Regions from separate parts of the Homo sapiens genome. Here region 2 is linked to region 1. The links are contacts of gene promoters, found by promoter capture Hi-C in blood cells and fetal thymus (Javierre and others, 2016). All regions are on one chromosome and are shown on one strand. The core of a region is centred on a gene start or on the middle of the fragment in contact, and the rest is flanking DNA. Distances in the headings are between cores, read along the strand shown. Region 1 holds the start of AVPR2 (arginine vasopressin receptor 2). Region 2 has its middle 14 kb from the start of PDZD4.

Evidence for each region. The method cuts DNA at HindIII sites, captures the fragments that hold promoters and counts their contacts. A CHiCAGO score of 5 or more calls a contact.
Region 2: a contact is called between a fragment that was not itself captured here and the fragment with the promoter of AVPR2 in region 1, in 1 of 17 cell types (M1 macrophages). The highest score is 5.3, in M1 macrophages.

Annotation. Positions count from the first base shown.
Region 1 is chrX:153,900,513-153,905,922 of GRCh38, forward strand. AVPR2 (arginine vasopressin receptor 2) reads left to right here and starts at 4,161. Exons shown (of 4, transcript NM_000054.7): 1 at 4,161-4,259; 2 at 4,462-4,658; 3 at 5,020-5,410. The coding sequence starts at 4,634. The HindIII fragment of the contact is 5,945 bases long and covers 167-5,410 here.
Region 2 is chrX:153,842,033-153,847,615 of GRCh38, forward strand. No RefSeq gene overlaps it. Among named protein-coding and RNA genes, the nearest start is that of PDZD4, 14 kb to the left of the region's middle. RefSeq lists enhancers at 2,592-3,460, 3,461-4,328. The HindIII fragment of the contact is 1,620 bases long and covers 2,965-4,584 here.

The DNA.
Region 1 (5,410 bases), core at 2,911-5,410:
TCTCCAGCCTCAGCCTCTGAGTAGCTGGGATTACAGGCTTGCGCCACCACGCCCGGCTAATTTTTGAAAATACTACATACTCTATGATTCTATTTATATAAAATTCTAGAAAAGGAAAATCTATAGTGATAGATCAGTGGTTGCTAGGCTTTCAGGTAGGGGAAGAAGCTTGACTGCAAAAGGCCACGAGGGAACTTTCTGGAATGTCGAAAATATTTATTCTATGTCATGATTGTGGTTGTGGTTACACGACTGTATACATTTGTCAAATCTTACTGAACAGTACAATTACAATTAATGAATTTTACTGTATGCTAATCATACCTCAATAAAGCCGAAAAAAAAAAAAGTCATTCTGGAGGAGAGAAATCATTGCCTGCGGAGGGCCATTCCAGGGTGGTGAGTGCATGAGCACTGAAGACACCCGGAGCAGCTGCTGCAATAATCTGGGGGAGGAACGTGCAGGCAGAGAGAGCAAGAGGAAGTCAGACTGGGAAACCCCGAGGCAGTTACCCAAACAGCCCACTAACAGCAACTGCAGTCGGCCGCCTCTGGGGAGGAAAGCGGGAGGGGCCACTGCCTTTAAAAAAGAAAAAAAAAAAAAATCTCTGCAGTTTTGCCAGGGAGCCGCCTCCTGCCTGACTCTCACATGATGACCTGGAGGCCATCTATGGGTACGGCCCTCAAGCCCTCAACGCTCACCCTCCTTCTACCCCCCGCCCCTCACCCCAGCACCTGCTGGAGACCCTGGCCCTCCCTTCCACTCCGCGAGGCTCTTAATCTATCCAGTTCCATGGGCTGCCTTTCCGCAGCTATAAACAGGCTCTGTCCAGCTTTCCCAGTTATTATTCACTTAGGTGAATGGACACAATTAGATGATCATCCGCAGGCTGTCTTCCTGTCATCATTGGCACACGCACACACCCTCACACACGCACACACCCTCACACACGCACACACCCTCACACACGCGCACACCCTCACACACAACCCCCCCAACGCCACACACACACACACCACACACCCTCACACACAACCACCCACGCCACACACACACCACACACCCTCACATGCACACCCTCACACACCACACACCACACACACCCCACACACACGCCCACCCTCACATACGCACACTCTCACACACACCCTCACACACTCTCACACCCTCACACACGCACACCCTCACACACACCCTCACATTCACACAAGTACACTTGAGTTTTTATTAAATTTGTTTTTGTCCCCTTCAATCCCATCCTCCAACCCGTTGTTCCTCCCTATCTCCTGGGCTCTAGGTATTCTCCTTCGGGTCACAGTCCCTGTGAGGGCCGTTCCTGTTGACAGGCACTTGGCTCCGTCCTTCCCACTGCCCACAGGCTCCACCATCTGCACATGCACCCCTCCCACACAATCGGGGGCCTCTTTCTCCTCGTCCTTGGCTGCCTCCTCTTTGTCTTCCACCCCTTACAAATCCTTCAGGGCCCTTTAAATGCCTTTTCCACCTGCCTGCTCCCTCTAGCCCCGCTGCCCAGTGTTAAGTGGGTCGCACCATTTCTCTCCTGGGTGACAGGCACAGCTTCCACCAGCCTCCCTGCCTCCACTCTTCTCTGCAGAAGCCCATGTGCTCCTGGGGCAGAGCCCAGGTCCTTCCATCTCTGCAGCCACAGTGCTAGGCCAGCGGCACTTGCAGTTTGGTGAATGGAAGGTTCTGATCATGGGGAACCGGTAGATAGAGAGGGACAAACAGTGTCCCCCCAATCTGCCTCCTGTCCTCTTCTGCCCAGACACTAGGCTGGAAGATCAGGAGCCACACCTTGGCACTCACAGAGCCCTTTCTGCAAGTCTTAGAGGGACCAGTGGGAGGTGTGCACACAGGGGCTGCGCTGGCAGGAGTGGGGGCCTGGCACACCCCCAGGTAGATGCCCTGCCCGTTAACGCCCAAGGGCAGGGGCTTGAGTGACTCATGTGGGCCTAGCGTGAATCAGCACAGTCTGCCCTTCTTCCCATGGGAGCTGCTGCCCAGCCCCATCTTTCTTGGCCCCCGAGGGGTGGCTGCCCAGGGCCTCTCTCCTGGCACAGTTCCATGTAGTGCCTGCCCATGTGGCTCCCAGTTCCTCCCCGGGGTCCTGGCTGAGCAGAATGGCACTGGATCCTGATCTGGCTTCTTGCATCCCAGAGGAGACCGCCATGCGGGCCCTTCCTCCAGATTCTTCCCTAGTTTAACAACAGGAAGCGAGGAGTCCAGGGGGGCAGAGATTGCCACGGGCCTGGCCACATTGCTAGGGGAGGTCCCAACCTGCTGCTGAGATCCGGCACTGCACAGCCTCGTTCAGGCAGAGAAACTGATAAGGAGATGGTTGTCTGCTCACCCCAAAAGGTTAGCATGGATTCCTCGCCCTAGCCGGCTTTAGACGGAGGGAACAAAGGCTTTCCCAAGGCCCTGCCAGTCCCCACCCCTGCCCATCTTACCACCGTAGTCTCCCTCAATCATCAAGTCCCATTGCACAGAAGGGGAAGCTGAGGTGCCAAGAGCTGGCGTGGCCTGTTCAAGGTCACACTACTGGGCAGGGGCCAAGCAGGGGCTGGAGCCTTGCTTTCCTATTCCCCAGCCAGGGTCCCCAAATTCTCTGCCAGTTGAGGGAAGCCATCTCCTATTCCACTGATCTGGGTGGCATTAGGAAGGCCTTTTCTATGCTCCTAGATTAGTGACAGCATGCGGTTATTGGGGACAGCATGAGGATGTGCATGCGCTGAGGAGATGCAGCTGAAGCGTCAGGCCTGGGGTGCCAGCACTCTGCAGCCTGCCCCCAAGGGGCTCTGCAAAAACATGGCAAAGATGCGGGGTGTGATGTGCACCTGTGTGTGCTGCGGGTGTGTGCGTGTGTGGTGTTGGCTGTGCGTATGTGGTGTGTATGGCTGTGTGGTGGGTACATGTGTGGGTGTGTGGCGTATGGGAGTGTGTGATGTGTGCATGTGTGTGGTGTGTAATATATGTGTGCATGGTGTGGTGTGTGTGTGGTGTGGCGTATGGGTGTGTGGTGGGTGCATGTGTGTGTGGCGTGTGGCTGTGTGCATGTATGTATGTGGTGTGGTGTGTGCGCTGTCTCTGGAAAATGCCCACCCTGTGTTCCCACCACCCTAACAGGGCCGGGAGGGGCCAGGGTGCTGCCAGGCTCTCTGGGCAGGAAGAGGAGGCCTTGGCCGCGGGCCGGACTTGGGCCTGGTCCGTGAGGCTGTTTTGGTCTCTGGCTTCACAGGCAACAGAGAAGACAGACAAACAGGAAGAAAGCAGCTGCCTTGGGCTGGGCTGGGCTGGGCTGGCCTCGGCTGAGCCAAGCCAGGCCTGGGTGCGGGGGGAGTGGAAAGAGAACTACTGGGATGGGGGCTGGAGGGGGTGTGGGGACAGGGGAAGGAGAGAGGTGTTGGGGGAGGGAGGAGGAGGGCTCAGGTACAGGGAAGGTGCGTCCATACTCATGGTATGTTCAAGAACATGAGCGAGCGTCTCTGTGTTGTGTGTTTGTGGCTGTGTGGCTGTATCATGTGAGGTTGTGTGTGGTGGGAGGGAGCCCGTGAGCACACGGAGGTCCCCAGCCCCTCTTCCTAGGACAGGTAGTTGCAGGTGGGGCAGGAGGAAGAGGGTGGGGGTGTCCCTGGATCTCACAGGGGTTCGTGAAGCCTGGCTTGGCCCCTGCCCCACTCCTCCCTTTCCTGTCCCTCGTCTCCGGCCAACTGGGCCCTAACTGGGGAGGAGGAGGGGCCTGCGTGGGCCTGGGAGGGGCCCAGCGAAAGTGTTTTCACCCCTTCCTTGCCTGGGCCCAGCGAGGAGCAGGAGGACCCCAACTTGGGAAGGGGGCGTGAAGCTCCCATGAAAAAGCAGCGCAGTCCTGGGCCAGACCCACCGCTCTCTGGCCTCAGTTTCCCCACTTATAAAATGGGAATGCTGAACTAAGTGACCTCCCAGAGCACTGCCAACCCAGACAATCCAACCAGGGGGGCGTGGTAGGGTGAGGGTGGGCGTGGAGGCTATGGCAGTGGGAGGAGGGAGTCCTGGGCCGGGACCAGGGAGGCCCTGGGGAAAGGAAGGGAAACAGGAGGCCAGGGGAGGCCTGGGGGAAAGGGGGAGGGGGAGGAAGTCCCCTCCTGGCCAGGTCACTCCCAGAGGCTGGGCTGGGCCAGGGCAGGGCAGCCGATGGAGAGCAGATCTGAGCACCCAGCCACCTTCACGCCACCGCCCAGCTGCCCAGGAGCCCAGCCAGGTAAGGGGCTGCGCCTGCCTGCCCCCCTGCCCAGTCCCCAGCCCTCGGATGGTGGCCTCTCTCGGCCTCGGTTGGGGCAGGGGAGTTCTGCGTGTCTGTCTGGGGTGCCCACTCCCAAACCCGGGACTCATGGGCTGCCTGGGGGATCCTGGGTTCTGTGCATCCGTCTGTCTGACCATCCCTCTCAATCTTCCCTGCCCAGGACTGGCCATACTGCCACCGACACGTGCACACACGCCAACAGGCATCTGCCATGCTGGCATCTCTATAAGGGCTCCAGTCCAGAGACCCTGGGCCATTGAACTTGCTCCTCAGGCAGAGGCTGAGTCCGCACATCACCTCCAGGCCCTCAGAACACCTGCCCCAGCCCCACCATGCTCATGGCGTCCACCACTTCCGGTAAGGCTTGCCCCTCCATGAGTCCGGTGGGCAGAGTGGGTTTGACGATTCAGGGAAGCCCCTCTTTCTAAAGACCTCCTTCACCCTCACCTCTGGGTGTGTCTCTCCAGGCTGCCAATGAGTGGGGAGGGGAGCACAGCCCCACTTCCCCGCCAGGGCTGGGGCTGGGGCTGGGGCTGGGGCTGCCCTTCCTTCTGGACTGCATGAGCCTGGGGTGTGTATCCCTCATAACATGGCTTTCCTGGAGTCCCCTCTGCTAGGAGCCAGGAAGTGGGTGTCCGGATGGGGGCACGGGAGGCAGGCCTGAGTCCCCCTGCACAGCACCCTCTCTAACCAGGCCCTCTTCCCGACTCCTTCCCAGCTGTGCCTGGGCATCCCTCTCTGCCCAGCCTGCCCAGCAACAGCAGCCAGGAGAGGCCACTGGACACCCGGGACCCGCTGCTAGCCCGGGCGGAGCTGGCGCTGCTCTCCATAGTCTTTGTGGCTGTGGCCCTGAGCAATGGCCTGGTGCTGGCGGCCCTAGCTCGGCGGGGCCGGCGGGGCCACTGGGCACCCATACACGTCTTCATTGGCCACTTGTGCCTGGCCGACCTGGCCGTGGCTCTGTTCCAAGTGCTGCCCCAGCTGGCCTGGAAGGCCACCGACCGCTTCCGTGGGCCAGATGCCCTGTGTCGGGCCGTGAAGTATCTGCAGATGGTGGGCATGTATGCCTCCTCCTACATGATCCTGGCCATGACGCTGGACCGCCACCG
Region 2 (5,583 bases), core at 2,525-5,024, 59 kb before region 1:
CAATGTCTATAGTTTTGGCCTTAACTATGCCAATCTAATTAGAATTCCCTGCATTAAAAAAAAAAAAGAAAAATTTTTGTTTAGGACTTTTGTCTCTGTATTCCAGACCAAAATGGACCTACAATCTTCCTATCTTGTTCTGTTTTTGCCTAGTTAATATTAAGGTTTTGTTGGGTAATGGTCCTTCCTTTTCAATTCTCTGGCAGAGTCTGTAGAGTTGCTAGAACTTGTCTGTAAAACCATGCGGGCCGGCTGTTTTATTTGTGGGAAGATTTTTAAACCGCTGCTTCAATCTGTTTTATACTTTTAGGGTTACTAGGGCTCGCTTGCTTGCTTTTTTTTTTTTTTTTTTTTTGAGACGGAGTCTCACTCTGTCACCTAGGCTAGAGTGCAGTGGCGTGGCATGATCTCGGCTCACTGCAACCTCCACCTCCCAGGTTCAAGTGATTCTCCTGTCTCAGCCTCCCGAGTAGGTGGGATTACAGGCACCCACCACCACGCCCGGCTAATTTTTGTATTTTTAGTAGAGACGGGGTTTCACCATGTTGGCCAGGCTGGTCTCAAACTCCTGACCTCAAGTGATCCACCCGCCTCGGCCTCCCAAAGTGCTGGGATTACAGGTGTGAGCCACCATGCCCGGCCTTTTTTTGTCTGTTTTAGTAAATTTAGTATATTTCTACTTTGTTTCAGGTTTATTGTCATCAGTAGTTGGTGGTTTATTTTTAGTCCTTAAACTGTCTGTATACATTTTCTGTATTTTCATATAATTCACAATTTTAAAGGCAAAATTAAAAAAAACAATAGGCCGGGCATGGTGGCTCACGCCTGTAATCCCAGCACTTTGGGAGGCCGAGGCGGGCGGATCACCTGAGGTCAGGAGTTCGAGACCAGCCTGGCCAACATAGTGAAACCCCGTCTCTACTAAAAATACAAAAATTAGCTGGGCGTGGTGGTGCGCATCTGTGGTCCCAGCTACTCAGGAGGCTGAGGCAGGAGAATCCCTTGAACCGGGAGGCGGAGGCTGCAGTGAGCCGAGATTACACCACTGCACTCCAGCCTTGGTGACAGAGACTCTGTCTCAAAAAAAAAAAAAAAAAAAAAAAAAAAGGTAATCACATTACCCACTTTAAAGCATACATACAATTCGGTGGTTGTTAGTATACTCACAATGTTGTGCCACCATCACTAATAATTCCAGAACATTTTCATCACCCCAAAAAGAAACCCCTTACTTGTTAGCAATCAATCTCCGTTCCCCCCTCCTCTAGCCCCTGGCAACCATTCATCTCCTTGCTGTCTCTATGGATTTGCCTATTCTGATCTTTTATATGAATGGAATCATACGCTATGTGGCCTTTTGTGTGTAGCTTCTTTCACTCAGCACAATGCTTCCAAGGCTCATCTGTGTTGTGGCATGGATCAGTATTTTATTTCTTTTTATGCCTGAATAGTATATCAAATGATGAGACCAAATCATTGTACTGTTCTTGCAACTTTTCTGTAGGTTTTTACATTTTCAAAGTAAGAAGTTGAAAAGAAAAAACTTATCTTAAGCAATCATTGGATTAAAGAGGAGAGCATACAGAAGCGACAAGCTTCGAGAGCATCGTGAAAAGAAGAACACGTCTTACCCCAACCTCTACACACAACTCAAGCTTTCCACGAGGGGCAGTTAGAATAGTCAAGATATGCATGATTAAGGAGGATAGATCAAAAGTCAACGACAACCAGAAAAAGAATGAGAGAAGCCAAAGGGGAAACAAAGGAAGGGGGAAAAAGAGAATAAAGATTAAAAACATAAAATAGTAAAAATTGTAAATAAATACAAAAGCTGATTCTTTAACAACAGAAAAAAATTGATAATTTCCTAACAAAATATAACTTTCTGAAAACCCAACAAGAACTAGAAAATTTGAGTCTACAAATTACCATTTTAAAGTAGAGAAGGAAGCCAAACTCAGTAGCTCACGCCTGTAATCCCAACAGTTTGGGAGGCCAAGGTGGGAGGATCACTTGAGTCTAGGAGTTTGAGGCCAGCCTGAGCAATATAGTGAGACTCCCATCTCTACAAAAACAAAAATTAAAAAATTAGCTGGACGTGGTGGCACACACCTGTAGTCCTAGCTGCTCAGGAGGGTGAGGTGAGAGGATCGCTTGAGCCCAGGAATTTGAGGCTGCACTGAGCTACAGTCATGCCACTGTACTCCAGCCCTGGCAATGGAGGGAGACCCTGTGTCAAATAAAATAAAATAGAGAGGGGATTCTCCATAAAAACAGTACCAACCCTAAGTAGTTTCAAAGCCAAGTCCTATATAATCTTTCAAGACAAAATAATTCTGATATCATTTAAACTATTCCAGTCCACACAAAAACATTTCATAAAGCCAACAATACCTAAACCTAGGTTGATGCCCAAACCTCCTAAACAGAGTACAAAAAGAAACCTGTGAACAACTGTCACTTCTGATTACAAATGCAAAAATTATAAATAAAAGATAAGCACATGGATTCCAGCGATATAGCAAAAGAATAAGACATTATGTCTGAGCAAGACATAATATTCTATTATTATGAATAGAATAGAATTTCGGGTCTACTCCAGAAATACAGAGGTGATTGAACATCAGGAAATCTTTCCACAGAATTCATTACTCAGCAAATTAAAGGAGGAAACTCACAGGATCACTAGTTGCTGACTAGGCATTTGATGCATTTCGACAGGCGTTCCTTGAAAAAGAAAGAACATCTCTTCTAAAAGGATACTGGGTAGAAACACGTAAAGGTGGTAGTGAGAGACAGCATTTCCACTCTTCTGCATAGCAACACAAAAGCAACGGGGTGCATGGAAACCCCCTGCCAACTCCATTGTTGGCCAAAGGAGGAGTCAGACAGCCTCCTAGCAAGCAAAGCAGAAATCTTTCCCAAGCCCCAGGTCCTGAAGATATTCTCCTGTTGTCTTCTACAAGCTTTATTGTTTTGCCTTTTGTTCTTAGATCTACAACATACCTGGAATTGATTTTTTTGTGTATAATGTCAGGCAGTGGTCAAAATTTGTTTTTTCTTTAAAAAAAAAAAACAAAAAGACTTCCAGGCTGAAGATCCTCAAGAAGGATTCTGTAGGGTCTTATTACAAGGTCCATTTTGGGTCTTGTTTTTAAGCAATGCCAGGAAGCTGACCAAAGTACTCTCTTCCTTTAAAAGCAACAGTGCATTGAGATGCATCTCCCTTTGAGGGCAGAGGCATTTGCTTACACATATCGGAACTTGGGCACTTTTACATTGCAAGGGAGCCATTGGCAATTCTCTGGTCCCATCACAATTGCCTGCTGGAGAAAATGCACAGTGTGAACCCCTGGGGAGGGGATATTGCCAATTCTATGACTTGCACAACTCGCAAATCAAGTCCTTCCTCTCCTTTCATGCCTTCATGGTCTCAGTGCCCGCCCTCTGCATCCTTGGGACGAGGCCATGACCCAAAGGGGCTGCTAGGGCGCTAGTCTTCTTCCTTTCTGTCTTTGCAATGCCTCCAGTGGGTTACCTGTGATGCACACCGCATTCTGGTTTAATGCGTATTCAATTATAAATTGTTTTCTTTCTCTTCTACTTTTGTGGAGAGGTTTTCTGGGTTGGGAGAAGATTTTGTTTTTAATTAAATTTCCCCAACATACTCCATAGCAATGGGGAAAGGAGTTGTCCCCTTTCCCCATTGCTATGGAGTATGTTGGGGAAATGTAACTCATCTGACCAGGCACTTTCTCAGGCATCAGTCCCAATCAAGTTATGTTATTATAACAGGTGTTGTCCTTTCCCCATTGCTATGGAGTATGTTGGGGAAATTTAATTAAAAACAAAAGACAGAAAGGGCCTCACTCTTCTATACAGCTAAGTGGGTCTGTATCCACTACAGTAGGCAGGTTTCACAATTCGGAGCCAGGTGGCAGCTGAAACTGAGAGATGAAGAGAGTTATCTTCCTGGATGATTAATTACATTTCGAAAAGCTGGCTCCCGGATCCCAGAGGAGAGGAAACATTCCTGAGTTGTGAAACTGGCCAGAGCTTCTTTAGCCATTAAAAACATCTACATACATTTGAAAAGGACAGAGAAAGAAATTCCAAAAGATAAAGGAAAAAGGTGCAGGGAGTCTCTTACCTTATTTTCAACAGAGAGAATTAAGCCTCTTGTTTTTAATCTGTATTTGCCCTTACAATCTTCTTCCTGTGTTACTATGAAATAATAACATTGCGATATTTAATTAACACCATTGTTGCTTTTACCTTCTTCTGGGCAAGTTGCAGATGCCTAAATATCCAGCTAGCCCGTAGTAAAATGCAAAACAATGACCACAATTGCAATAGCATCAGTTTTTGAATTCAGTACAATACTTGCCTTGGAGGACAACCTTCAAATATATCACATCAATGGTTCAGGGTTCAATCAGATTCTTTGTAGGCAAATGTGTAAACATTTCCCTCCATCACACATTAATTGTACTAGCTGTCATGACATCTTCATTGCCTGAGCTTTCAAATGGCTAACCATTTGAATATTATTTCATGGCTCCTTACAAAATCTTATCCAATCCAAGCTTAAGGAGTAGTTTAACTCTGGAGTCTTATAAATTTTTAATGAAGAGTTTTCCTTGTAAGACCCCCAGAATTTCTTGAGTTTTCATCATATATGTGTGTATGTGTATATATATAGATAGATATATACATATATATACACACATATATAGATATATACATATATAGATATATACATATATACACATATATATAGATATATACATATATACACATATATATACATATATATATGTATACACATATATATGTATATATATGTAACTTTTTTTTTTTTTGAGGAGTCTTGCTCTGTTGCCCAGGCTGGAGTACAGTGGCACGATCTCAGCTCACTGCAACCTCTACCTCCTGGGTTCAAACGATTGTCCTACCTCAGCCTCCTGAGTAGCTGGAATGACAGGTGCCTACCACCAGGCCAGGCTGGTTTCAAACTCCTGGCCTCAAGTGATCCACCCACTTTGGCCTCCTGAAGTGCTGGGATTACGAGCGTGAGCCACCATGCCTGGCCCTGTAACATCATATTGACAATAATAATGTAGGCACTTTGGTAATTGTTTTGTCTTCCTGAGTGGTATTTCTCAATGTGAACTACAAAGATACCTATGGCCATATCTAGGATCGAAGTCTTTTTTTTTTTTTTTTTTGAGACGGAGTCTCGCTCTGTCACCCAAGCTGGAGTGCAGTGGTGTGGTCTCGGCTCACTGCAAGCTCCGCCTCCCGGGTTCACGCCATTCTCCTGCCTCAGCCTCCCGAGTAGCTGGGACTACAGGCGCCTGCCACCACGCCTGGCTAATTTTTTGTATTTTTAGTAGAGACGGGGTTTCACCATGTTGGCCAGGATGGTCTCGATCTCCTGACCTCATGATCCGTCAGCCTTGGCCTCCCAACGTGCTGGGATTACAGGCGTGAGCCACTGCGCCCGGCAGATCAAAGTCTTACTATGAACTTCCAGGGTGTAATGTACACAGCCCTATCTGTTTTTTGTTTGTTTGTTTGTTT